2 separate regions of the Homo sapiens genome follow, and region 1 is linked to region 2. Evidence: promoter capture Hi-C in 16 types of primary human blood cells and fetal thymus (Javierre and others, 2016). All regions are on one chromosome and are shown on one strand. Each heading gives the region's core, a stretch centred on a gene start or on the middle of the fragment in contact. The rest is flanking DNA. Distances are from core to core; before and after follow the strand shown. Region 1 overlaps CCDC90B-AS1 (CCDC90B antisense RNA 1). Region 2 holds the start of INTS4 (integrator complex subunit 4).

Evidence for each region. The method cuts DNA at HindIII sites, captures the fragments that hold promoters and counts their contacts. A CHiCAGO score of 5 or more calls a contact.
Region 1: a contact is called between a fragment that was not itself captured here and the fragment with the promoter of INTS4 in region 2, in 1 of 17 cell types (non-activated CD4 T cells). The highest score is 5.2, in non-activated CD4 T cells.

Annotation. Positions count from the first base shown.
Region 1 is chr11:83,290,463-83,295,971 of GRCh38, reverse strand. The region is part of intron 1 of CCDC90B-AS1 (CCDC90B antisense RNA 1); the gene reads right to left. Among named protein-coding and RNA genes, the nearest start is that of CCDC90B, 6.8 kb to the right of the region's middle. The HindIII fragment of the contact is 1,087 bases long and covers 2,742-3,828 here.
Region 2 is chr11:77,993,056-77,998,421 of GRCh38, reverse strand. INTS4 (integrator complex subunit 4) reads left to right here and starts at 3,754. Exons shown (of 23, transcript NM_033547.4): 1 at 3,754-3,832. The coding sequence starts at 3,779. RefSeq lists silencers at 412-612, 3,370-3,439 and an enhancer at 3,640-3,839. The HindIII fragment of the contact is 5,814 bases long and covers 1,603-5,366 here.

The DNA.
Region 1 (5,509 bases), core at 2,036-4,535, 5.3 Mb before region 2:
ATTGTAAGTGTACTAAATGCTACTGAGTTGTTCACGTTTAAATGGTTAATTTTATGTGACGTGAATTTCTCAACAAATTTTTTTAAAGAAATGACCTAAATTACACAAAGAGCTAACAATAAAAGAAAGACCTTCTTGATGATAAGAGCTGAAAACAGGGTAAGGCTGGCAGGAGTAAAATCAATGAAGGGCCCCCAAATTCTCCCCACAGTAGTATAGATCAGTTCTTAAGAGATAGCTTTGTGGAGTCAAGGGCTCTTCCCCAGAGCCTAAGGTAGTAGCAGGAAAAGGCCTGAGGTAGGAGTCAGGAGCTGTGACTATGTCACTAAATAATCAGCGCCTCTCCCCTGAGCCTCAAGCTCCCTCAGTTGCAAACCCAGAAAACTACCTCCCGAGGCTGTTGTGAGGCTCAAAGCAAACAGTGAATATGAAGGTTTTCATTACCCATTATAAAAATGCAAAGTTTTCCATGTGCTTCAGGGTTGAAATTCCAGCTTGTTGTATGTCCCTGAACAAGCTACTTAACCCCTCTAAGTCTTGTTTTTGTCTCTACCTACCTTACATGATTGTTGGAGAATTAGAAATAATATACGCAAAGTGCCTGGTACCCACTAAACCCTCAGTAAGTTGAAGCTATTGTTAAATGGGTGGGAACAATTTCAGCAAGGAAGGGAAGGAATAAGAGAAAATGAGCAAAATGGGTGTTGGGATGAAGGTGGGAGTCAGTGGAAATGTCATGGCCAGTGCAGGATTATGGCAGCCTAAGGGGAATATATAATCTAGAAATGGCATATGTGCTGCCCCCTTTCTCTCCTGCATTCATATCAGATACTACCAATCAATCATGTATTCTTTACTGCTGCACCAAGATATGGCCTCACAACACTCATCACTTTGTTCTAAGCAGCCACGGTCAATTGAAGGGTATTGGCATGAAGATGAAACCCATTTGTCACTTCTGTACTAACAGTTTCTTGGAGGATGAGGGATGATGTGTCCCTAAGAGTACACATAATTTCACAATTTGTGCCATGTACCCAGTTAAAATAAATTGGTGGAAGGAACAGGGGTGACTTATCTATGCAGTGTGCAGCACAATCGATTATGAGTTCTACCACGTACTTGCTCTGTGACCTGGGACAAGTCACTTCAGCCTTCTGAACCTGTTTTCCCATCTATGAAACAGGAGCAATGGTACCCAGCTCACGGAGTTGCCAAAGAGCTCAAATGAGCTCATGTGTGTGAGATAAGAGATGAGGCAACACCTACATGTGAAGAATTTTTGAGGAAGAATGCCCCACCTTGTTGTTGGAGACAGGAAGGATACAGACCATGCTGAGAGTTTAGTGAGATTTTTCAGCTCTGCTATACCCCAGTGCGGAAAATGAATTCCAAAGTCAAGACCCCAAAATCCTATTTCCCTAGTCTTTCCCAGTGAGGTCCAAGGCAGCCAAGTCATACAATGAGGAGGACTTCTCCAATCAGGTACCTTGAGGCTGGAGCTGTAGGCTCTGCCAGGCCAGGGGTCTTCTCTGACCAGGAAAGGGGCAGATGTCTAGGGTTTTCCAGATCAGTACCTAGGACAGGGAATCTAGGTGAAATACACAGCCTTGACCGCTGAAGGACTCAGCAAAGGGCAGGCAAACACCCTTTTGGTTTTTTTCCTTTTCTTTTCATTTTTTCGTTTTCGTTTTTGAGACAGGGTCTCTGTTGCCCAGGCTGGAGTGCAGTGGTGCAATCAGGGCTCACTGTAGCCTTGACCTCCTGGGCTCAAGAGATCTTCCCACCTCAGCCCCCTGTGTAACTGGGACTACAGGCATGTGTCCCATTGCCCGGCTAATTTTTTTTAATTTTTATAGAGACAGGAGCTCGCTATGTTGCCCAGGCTGGTCTCAAATTCCTGGGCTCCACTGATCCTCTCACCTTGGCCTCCCAAACTGCTGAGATGACAGGGTGAACCACCATGCCTGGCCACCTTTCTTTTCAAAGCTACTCCCTAGCCTAATGCCCTTCAGTGATTCCTCTTACTCATGGATAAAGTAAAAAAGACCTTGAAGGCCAGCCTCACCTTTTCCAACCTCACCTTCTGAATTTCCCTACCCTTAACCCATTGCTCCAGCCATTCTCTCCATTCCCAAATGAACCAGGCTCTCTCACACACACTTCCCGGCTTTTGCAAGTGCTGTTGCCTTTTCCACACAACGTACTCCACACCACCATTCACCAAATCCATTTAACCAAACTGTCTTTCACACATCCTTTCAAACTAATGCCTTCCGACGGATCCCTGCTTAGGGTAATATAAGCCTCTCTTATGCATTCCCTTGGCAGCCTATACTACCCTTCATCATAATATTTATTACAATAGACTGTTGACAATCTGAGAGCAGGACTGTGTTTTATGTTTATATCTTCATGGCTTAGCACAGTGCCTGGCACCATAAATAGTGTTCAATAGTCATTCAAAGAAAAAATGAGTAATCGATGAGAGACACCAGGTTATGATGTAACATTGCAAAGTATATAATGTTTTGACAGCTCTTTCTTCTTCTTTTCTACCATTCTTTTAATCATTCTTTTCTTTGATTTATTTTAATGGGCAAACTCGGAATCGGGTGTCATTGCCAGCCTCCCTGTATAATTAGGAAAAAAAAAATTTCCCCAGATTTTCAGGGAATACGGGCTGATAGTCACTTTCCAGCCATGCAAAATGTGAAATTAACATAAAGCTACACAAAGCTTTTGTGACAATGGGCCCTCTGACTCAGCTTCAGAGATGAGAGCAAAGAAGCAAAGAATTGTCCTTGGTTCTTTTCACATCCTCCCCCTAGTGGCAAGAGCTCCAAGTAAGCTAAGGAAGAAAATGAAACCCATTTGGTCCAGAGCTCTCTCTTTCTCAATGCCTCATTCACAGGCTTTAAAACACATCGAGATTCCTTCACATCACCTATTCCAAGAGAAAATGACTGACACATGTGAGTGGTCCAGGCTGCATTCTCTCTCCGTGAAGTCACCAGAGCTATAGTCGTAGTCCTGGGTGATCTCTGGTCATCTGATACAATTGTGCCCAAGCTGGGACCCCAGACCTCTAAACATCAGAGGAAAGAGTACTGGAGCAATGGGGTCCTCAAGAGGATTTGGACATATTAAAATGCCTCAAAAAATTGTATCATTGCTGGAGATGAAATTGGAAACCACTGAAGAAATTGGCAAGTATCTTCGCCTTCCCCTGTAAATTTATCAGCTTACTGTTAAATCAGCACTGCTTATCTCCCACTCACCAACAGTAACTTATCTTGAATTAATGGAAAATAGGAAAATAAGTAGTGGCTTCATACATGTTGTTGGTAAAGAGTGTAAGCTGTGTTTTAAATGGGAGCTTATAAAGGTAAAAAAAAAAAAGTGGTTATTTGCAATGAAAAAAACCAGGACCCACTTCCCTGCTACCCTGTTGGCCTTTGAGATTTAGATAAACTAGGCTGCTTTCAGCAGGGGAGCATTTCTCATGTCCAGGCCATCTCATCAGACATTGGAAGAGGAAAGGATTCATTTGCCTACACTAGCAAATGGCAAATAGTTATTTTCTAGAAAGAAATTCAAACTGATTTTTATCTATTTTAGCTCAAAAAATTTCAAAATCTCCTGCAAGTCCACTGTATGAAATTCAATTTCCTTAGTCTTTTTTATTCTACCTTTTTCATTTTGTTCACCCCAATTCCACCCAGTCTTCATATAATTCCTATGCCCCAGTCTACGAAGTTTCCTCACCAAACTATGACCATATTTTGAACATTCACTCATTCATTCAACACACACTTACCAAAAGCTTGTTATGGCCCAGGCATGATAAGCACTGGAGACACCATGACACATATGGTCTCTACCATAATGGAGAAAACAAATATTAAGTGCAGAGACATGGGAAGGCTGGGTTGCTGTATGAGTCCATAACAAAAGTACCAAATCTGCATGTTGTTTGAGTGGGAATGACTTCTTAAAGAGTTACTCTAAAAAGTCACCATTTAAACTGGAATCTGAAAGATATAAAGGAATTGGCCAGATAAAGAGGAGAAAGAGCTCCAAGTTGAGTAGTGATGCTTTACCATATGCAAAGTCCCTGAGTAGGAAGGAGCAAAGCGATGAGTAAATTGTACTTGCTCACTCCAATCCTCTCTCCTGGACCCCTTGCCTTACAACCTCTACTAACTAAAACCCCTAAGGTTCAAATCCTATCTCTTCTTGATAACCATTATCAAAAAGCATTTAACCTTCAACTGAATTATAGGATTTATTATTTTCTTAACATTTACATGACACTAACCTATTAAAGCTCTGTGTTGAAGGCTATTAAAATGCTTGTTCTATTCTCTCAGTTATTAATATATTACAAATTACTGGAGAGCAGAAATCTTTGCAATCCTTGCGTATCCTAGCAGAAATCCCTGCACGTAGTAAGAACTTGAATAGTTGTTGGATTGAACTGGTTTTCTTTACATTCCTCACATCTAACCTTAAACCTAGCTGGCACTCAGATATTTCTGTAAGTAAAACTGGAAAAATGAAAAATGTTTAAAAGTCCAGAGAAGAATAATATTGTGAAGGGTCCGAGATCTTACCCTATTAGCAGGCTATCAAGTTATCCTGTCATGGTTGCATGGATGCTGGTAGAAGATATGAGACTCCTTGCTAGAAACAAAGAACCCAATTACTGATGGTGCAGCGAGCAGCACGAGTATCGGCATATTTGTGTCAGCTCCCCTTGGCCCCAAGTTCATGGGGATGATGCAGCTGGGGCTACGTAGATGCCTGAGCACGTACAGTACATTGCATTACAGAGAGGAACCCTGACCTATGAGAACACAAATCTTTTATAATAGGCAGTAAGCATGAGGCCTTTTGCTCCAGAGAGAGATGCTATATTTCCTAAGGTTGTTCGTTATACAAAACTGCCACAACAAAAGGCAGAGAAGACCTCCATTTGTAAAACATACAGAAACATGAGACACCCATGGAAATTATTTCCTAACTCTGAGTAAGCAGGTATTATTATTGTTTATTGGGTGCTTGTATATGCCAGGTCCAGTGCTAAGTATTTTAGATGCATCATCTTTTCTATTCCTCTCAACAAACATGAGAAAACATTAACAAATTTATGGAAAAATATTTTTATAAATTAAGATGTTTAACAAAGAAACAATAGCAACCAAGGAGAATCTGAAAATACACAGGAGCATTAGGAGGTCTCAGAGAGGAGCTGTATCTATTAGCTGAATACTATCTGGACTCACTTCATCTGCTATTCCTGCTTTTCCTTCCTATGCTTCTCTGGCCTGCATGGTAGATTATGGATGACCCAAGCTCCTGCACTCACTTGATATAGTTCCAGCCAGCCTCAGAGAATGATTAAGAATCCCTGGATCTAATTGCCACTTCCATCAAAGAGAACATAATCAACACTGTATATGTGTGTTACAGAGAGAGCTTTATGTTAATATAAATAATAGTAACA
Region 2 (5,366 bases), core at 2,505-5,004:
GTTCTGAACCAGCAGGTAGAGAAGAAGTTACTAAGTTGGGCTGCTGTTATGCAAGAGAGAGAGAAGACTGAAGCCTCACGGATTCATTCACAGGTGAACCTTAATGTATTTTCATAAGTAATAATAAAAGTCAAAGGAAAATGGCATCAATACAATAAAGACGGTTTTTCAATTCAACATTAAAGAATGTGTGTTCTTGTTTCTATACCAATCTGGCTCATTGAGAAGTTGGCTATACCAACTTCTCAAATTTATTTATTTATAATTTAAAAAAAATTTATATAGCCAGGCGTGGTGGCTCATGCCTGTAATCCCAGCACTTTGGGAGGCCGAGGTGGGCAGATCACTTGAGGTCAGGAGTTTGAGACCAGCCTCGGCAACATGGTGAGACCCTGTCTCTACTAAAAATGCAAAAAGATTAGCTGGGTGTGGTGGCGCATGCCTGTAATCTCAGCTACTCATGAGGCTGAGGCAGGAGAATCGCTTGAACCTCAGAGATCGAGGCTACAGGGAGCCACGATTGTGCCACTGCACTGCAGCCTGGGTGACAGAGATAAACTCCATATAAATTTTTTTTTTTTAAAATATAGAGACAGGGTCTCTTTCTGTTGCACTGACTGGTCTGGAACTCCTGAGCTCAAGGGATCCTCCCACCTACCACCTCCCAAAGTACTGGGATTACAGGCATGAGGCACCATGCCTGGCCTCAACTTTATTTTTATTGCTTCTTCTGTTCCCTGCATGCACTTAACTTTCAACATGAACTGAAGTTCCTTTGGTTTTCGGAATGCACCAAACTCCTTCCTAAAGCCATTTATTTATTTATTTATTTATTTATTTATTATTTTGAGACAGGGTCTCATTCTGTCACCCAGGCTGGAGTGCAGTGGTGCGATCTCAGCTACTGCAATCTCTGCCAAGCGGGCTCAAGCAATCTTCCTACCTCAGCCTCCCGAGTAGCTGGCACTACAGGCATATGCCACCACGCCCAGCTAATTTTTTGTATTTTTGGTAGAGATAGGTTTTCACCATGTTGCCCAGGCTGGTCTCCAACTCCTGAGCTCAAGCTATCCTCTCACCTTGGTCTTCCAAAGTGCTGGGATTACAGGTGTGAGCCACCGCACCTGGCCGCCATGTATTTAATAACGATGATAATACTCTGTATCATTGATGCTATGATGCACATTTAATGTCTCCGAAATCAGGAGATGTTGGCCAATCGCTCATATGTATACTGAGTCGTAGCAGTTCATGGTGTCATCGCTTCGACTGAGCTCTGTGCAATTTTGGAATTACATGTGTTATTTTAAATTACTATTAAATATATCTCCAAATAGATTACCCTATAATTTGGCATTAAAAAGTTCTTATGTGCACAGGAAGACATGGAAACAGCAGTGCGAGGTAAGATACAAATCTATGTCTAAATAAGTTAAAAAGAGCTGTTTCTGTAAGTATACATAACAAATCTAAGCAATTAGAAACCATTGTATTTAATTTCAGCATTTCTTTTCTTAACATAATAAATAAAATATTGATTTTACAATTGCTGGCAGCTTAGATTTGATAGAATATGATAATGGTAATAATAGCAGCTAAGCTTTATTAAAGGTACTGTTTGCTAAATGTTTTTCATTTCCCTTGACATATTTGTATATCTTATCTCGGCGGTCTGGGATGCCTTTGTTTCTGGAAAAACTCATTCTTTTAAAGCTGCATTAGAAATAGTTTCCTTTTTTTTTCTTTTTTTTTTCTTGAGACAGAGTCTCGCTCTGTTGCTCAGGCTGGAGTACAGAGGCCCGATCTCGGCGCACTGCAGCCGCTGCCACCTGGGTTCAAACGATTCTCCTGCTTCAGCCTCCCGTGTAGCTAGGATTACAGTCACCCACCCCGACGCCCGGCTAGTTTTTGTATTTTTAGGAGAGACGGGGTTTCACCATGTTGGCCAGGCTGGTCTCGAACTCCCGACCTCAGGTGATCCGCCTGCCTCGGCCTCCCAAAGTGTTGGGATTATAGGGGTGAGCCACCGCGCCCAGCCTTTTTTTTTTTTTTTTTTTTTTTTGGAGACAGGGTCTCACTCCGTTGCCCAGGCTGGAGTGCAGTGGCTGGATCTCGGCTCACTGCAACCTCCACATCCCAGGCCCAAGCGATTTTCCCGCCTCAGCCTCCAGAGTAGCTGGGACTTCAGGCGTGGGCCACCATCATGCCCAGCTAAATTTTGTATTTTTAAAGTAGATTTCGCCATGTTGCCCAGGCTGGTCTCAAAACTTCTGAACTAGGTGATCTGCCCGCCTCGGCCTCTCAAAGTGCTGGGATTATAGGCGTGAGCCACCACTCCCAGTTTCCTCTAATTTTAGGAAAGCCTTCCCTGAGGCACTCTGAAGAAATTAGGTCTGTTTGAACCACATTCATTCCCGTTACCCAGCACATTTCAGTTGCACTGTCACCATCAGTTTGGGTGTCTGTCTTCTCAGATTGTAGGACCTTGAGGATAAATACTATCTTTTGTTTATTTTTGGGTCCTCTGTATCCACCTCAGCCTCCTGCTTTTTTTTTTTTAAACTATCCCACATTAATTCTTTTTTTTTTTTTTTGATAACGGAGTCTCGCTCAGTCGCCCAGGCTGGAGTGCAGTGGCGCGATCTCGGCTCACTGCAACCTCCGCTTCCCATGTTCAAGTGATTCTTCTGCCTCAACCTCCCAAGAAACTGGGATTACAGGCGTGTGCCACCATGCCCCGACTAATTTTTGTATTTTTAGTAGAGACGGGGTTTCCCCATGTTGGCCAGGCTGGTCTCGAACTCCTGACCTCAAGTGATCCATCCGCCTCGGCCTGCCAAAGTATTGGGATTACAGGCATGAGCCACCGCGCCTGGCCCACATTCTTTTGAAAGACCAAAATAATGAACAGCTAGTTTCATGTAGGTTGTAAAACTTGACCTTGGATTTACTGACACTAACATGTGCACTACACCTTACAGTCCGTAAAATGTTCCTGCATTATTTCACTCCATTGTCACATCTTTGTCAGGTTAGTTATTATAAATGCATTTGTAGTTGAGCCATTTGCTCAAGAACCAGAGCTGTAGTCTGTAGCTTTGTTGCTTTATCCTTGGTCTCAGAAGTCTTCTACTGTACTATAGCTATCAGAGCAGGGATTGATGCCTTAAAGGATGGCAGCTTTTGCAAAACTGGAATAAGGAAGTATGGAAAGGCACCCCAAAACAAGAGAGGTGGCGCACAGCTTGAACAAAGGCAGTGCTCAGGAAACCTACAAACAGCATCGTGTACAGCAAAGGATGATGGGAAAGTCAGCCGAGCCTCTGAGTTTTTTCACGAGTCGTAAACCCCTTACAGAGCTCCGGGTTTTGCCTCTAGCTCTGGAGCACCCCGCCTCTGCCCTTTAACCTGTACTTCCTCCCTCCCTCCCTTCGCGCCGCGCCGCGCTAGTCTCTTAGCCACTCCGAGGCCACCAACCAGCCTCCCAAAGCTCCCATTGGGTTGCCCACCCTTTCAGTCTCAGCTCCTCCCGCCAGAGGCCCCGCCTCCCACAAGCGAAGCTCTTATTTCCGTTCTTCCGGCGTAGGCCGCCAAATCAGTCCGTACAGTGGCGAGGCAGTCGAGCAACAGGAAGCGGTCGCTCTTTCCCCAAATCCCACTGCCTTGTGGGATCTCGGCAAGTCATCCACCCACCCCCCGCGCCTACGCAAGTTTTCCGGATCCGTCCACCCCCGCCTCCCTCCTAGTGTACGGAAGCTGAGAGGGCCCGCGGGTAGGCATGGCGGCGCACCTTAAGAAGCGGGTTTATGAGGAATTCACGAAAGTGGTTCAGGTAAGCTCTGGCGGGAAAGATCCAGAACCGATCCGGACCAGGGTAGATTATCCAAATCCCAGGCACTTTGCCGGAACAGAAGAGGCTCCATACGCCCGTGTTAAGTGCTGACTTGTTGATAATCTCTGATATTGCAAGTTAGTGGGCGTGTTAGTTTGCAGCCGCTGTTGTCATTAATATGTGAAGTCTGACAGGATTTTAAAAAAATTATTAGGAGAAACAGTGTTTTTTAATTTACGAAACTGTCTTATCCGTTATTTCATTTTATTCTCTCACACAACTTTGCTCCATCGCGTTACATTAGCATCCTCGTTTTCCAGATGTGGACATTGAGCCTTCCGGAGGGGTACGAGGATACAGCCAGTTAGCAGCAGAGCCCCTTCTAGCCTCCCCGCACCCCCGTTCCAAAAAAAAACCTCCCAGGGACCAGTTGGAATATACACAAGGTTCTAAGGGGCTGAAAGAAGGGTCTATAGAATTCCTTCAGGCGCAGTCTAAGCAGGCGGGGGTCACAGACTTCATAGGGGAAGAGCTCTCTATTGGTAGAACAGCTCACCTAGGAAGGAGGGCAGTACCTTCCTCACCATGAAGTTGTGACAGGTGGGCAGAGTCCCTGTCGGGAGTCAGTGATGCTCCATGTGTCTCCACGTAGATGTTGCTAGGGTTGATCCTAAATCATCCTGATGTCCTATTTCTCAGATATTAATGTGTATACAAATTACCTGGGGACGTTGTTCAAATGTCGATTCTATTTGATAAGTCAAGCAGAGGAGGTGAGGCAAGATTCTGCATTCCTGACATGCCCCCAAATTTACACCAGTGCATTGGTTGCATTCTTAGATCCTTAGACTTGTAGAGTGGCAAGGCTTAGAGCATCCAGCAGGATACTGATCCTTAAACATTACATGGATTCATTCATCCAGCATTAAAATATGTTAATACAAATACAAAATATGTCAATACATAATATAAAATTTACAATTTTAACAATTTTAAGTATAAAGTTCAGTGGCATTAAGAACATTAGCACTGTTGCACAATGTGATTTCCTCTCTTCCCAACATTCTGTTGTTCCCATTTCCCAAGACTGCTCAGCCCTCTTCCACCCATCCTCACATGACCAGATATGCCATGTGTTCTTGTGTTTGCATATCTCAAAACTCTTGCACTGGTTGTCTCTTCTCACAGAATACATGCCATTCTTCCCTTTCTTTTTGTTCTCCACCCAGTGGACTTAACATTTGTGCTTCAAGACCCAAATGAAACCTCAGCGAGAGCTTAGTCTCTTCTTCACCTGTTTCTGTAGCATTCTGTGGTACTAATCTATTTGTACTTTTTGTTCAGTGCTGCTGTCATTACCGGTGTACCTATCTTCCCACCAGTCGGAGGTCCTTGATGGCAGAGCTAATGCCTGGCTCATCTCCGTGTCCTGGAGATGGACAATAGGGCCTGGCTCACTAAAGTGTTATTGGTGGTTGAATGACAGTTGATATTGCTTGTCCTCTCCCTTATATAATACTTAGGGAAAAAATTC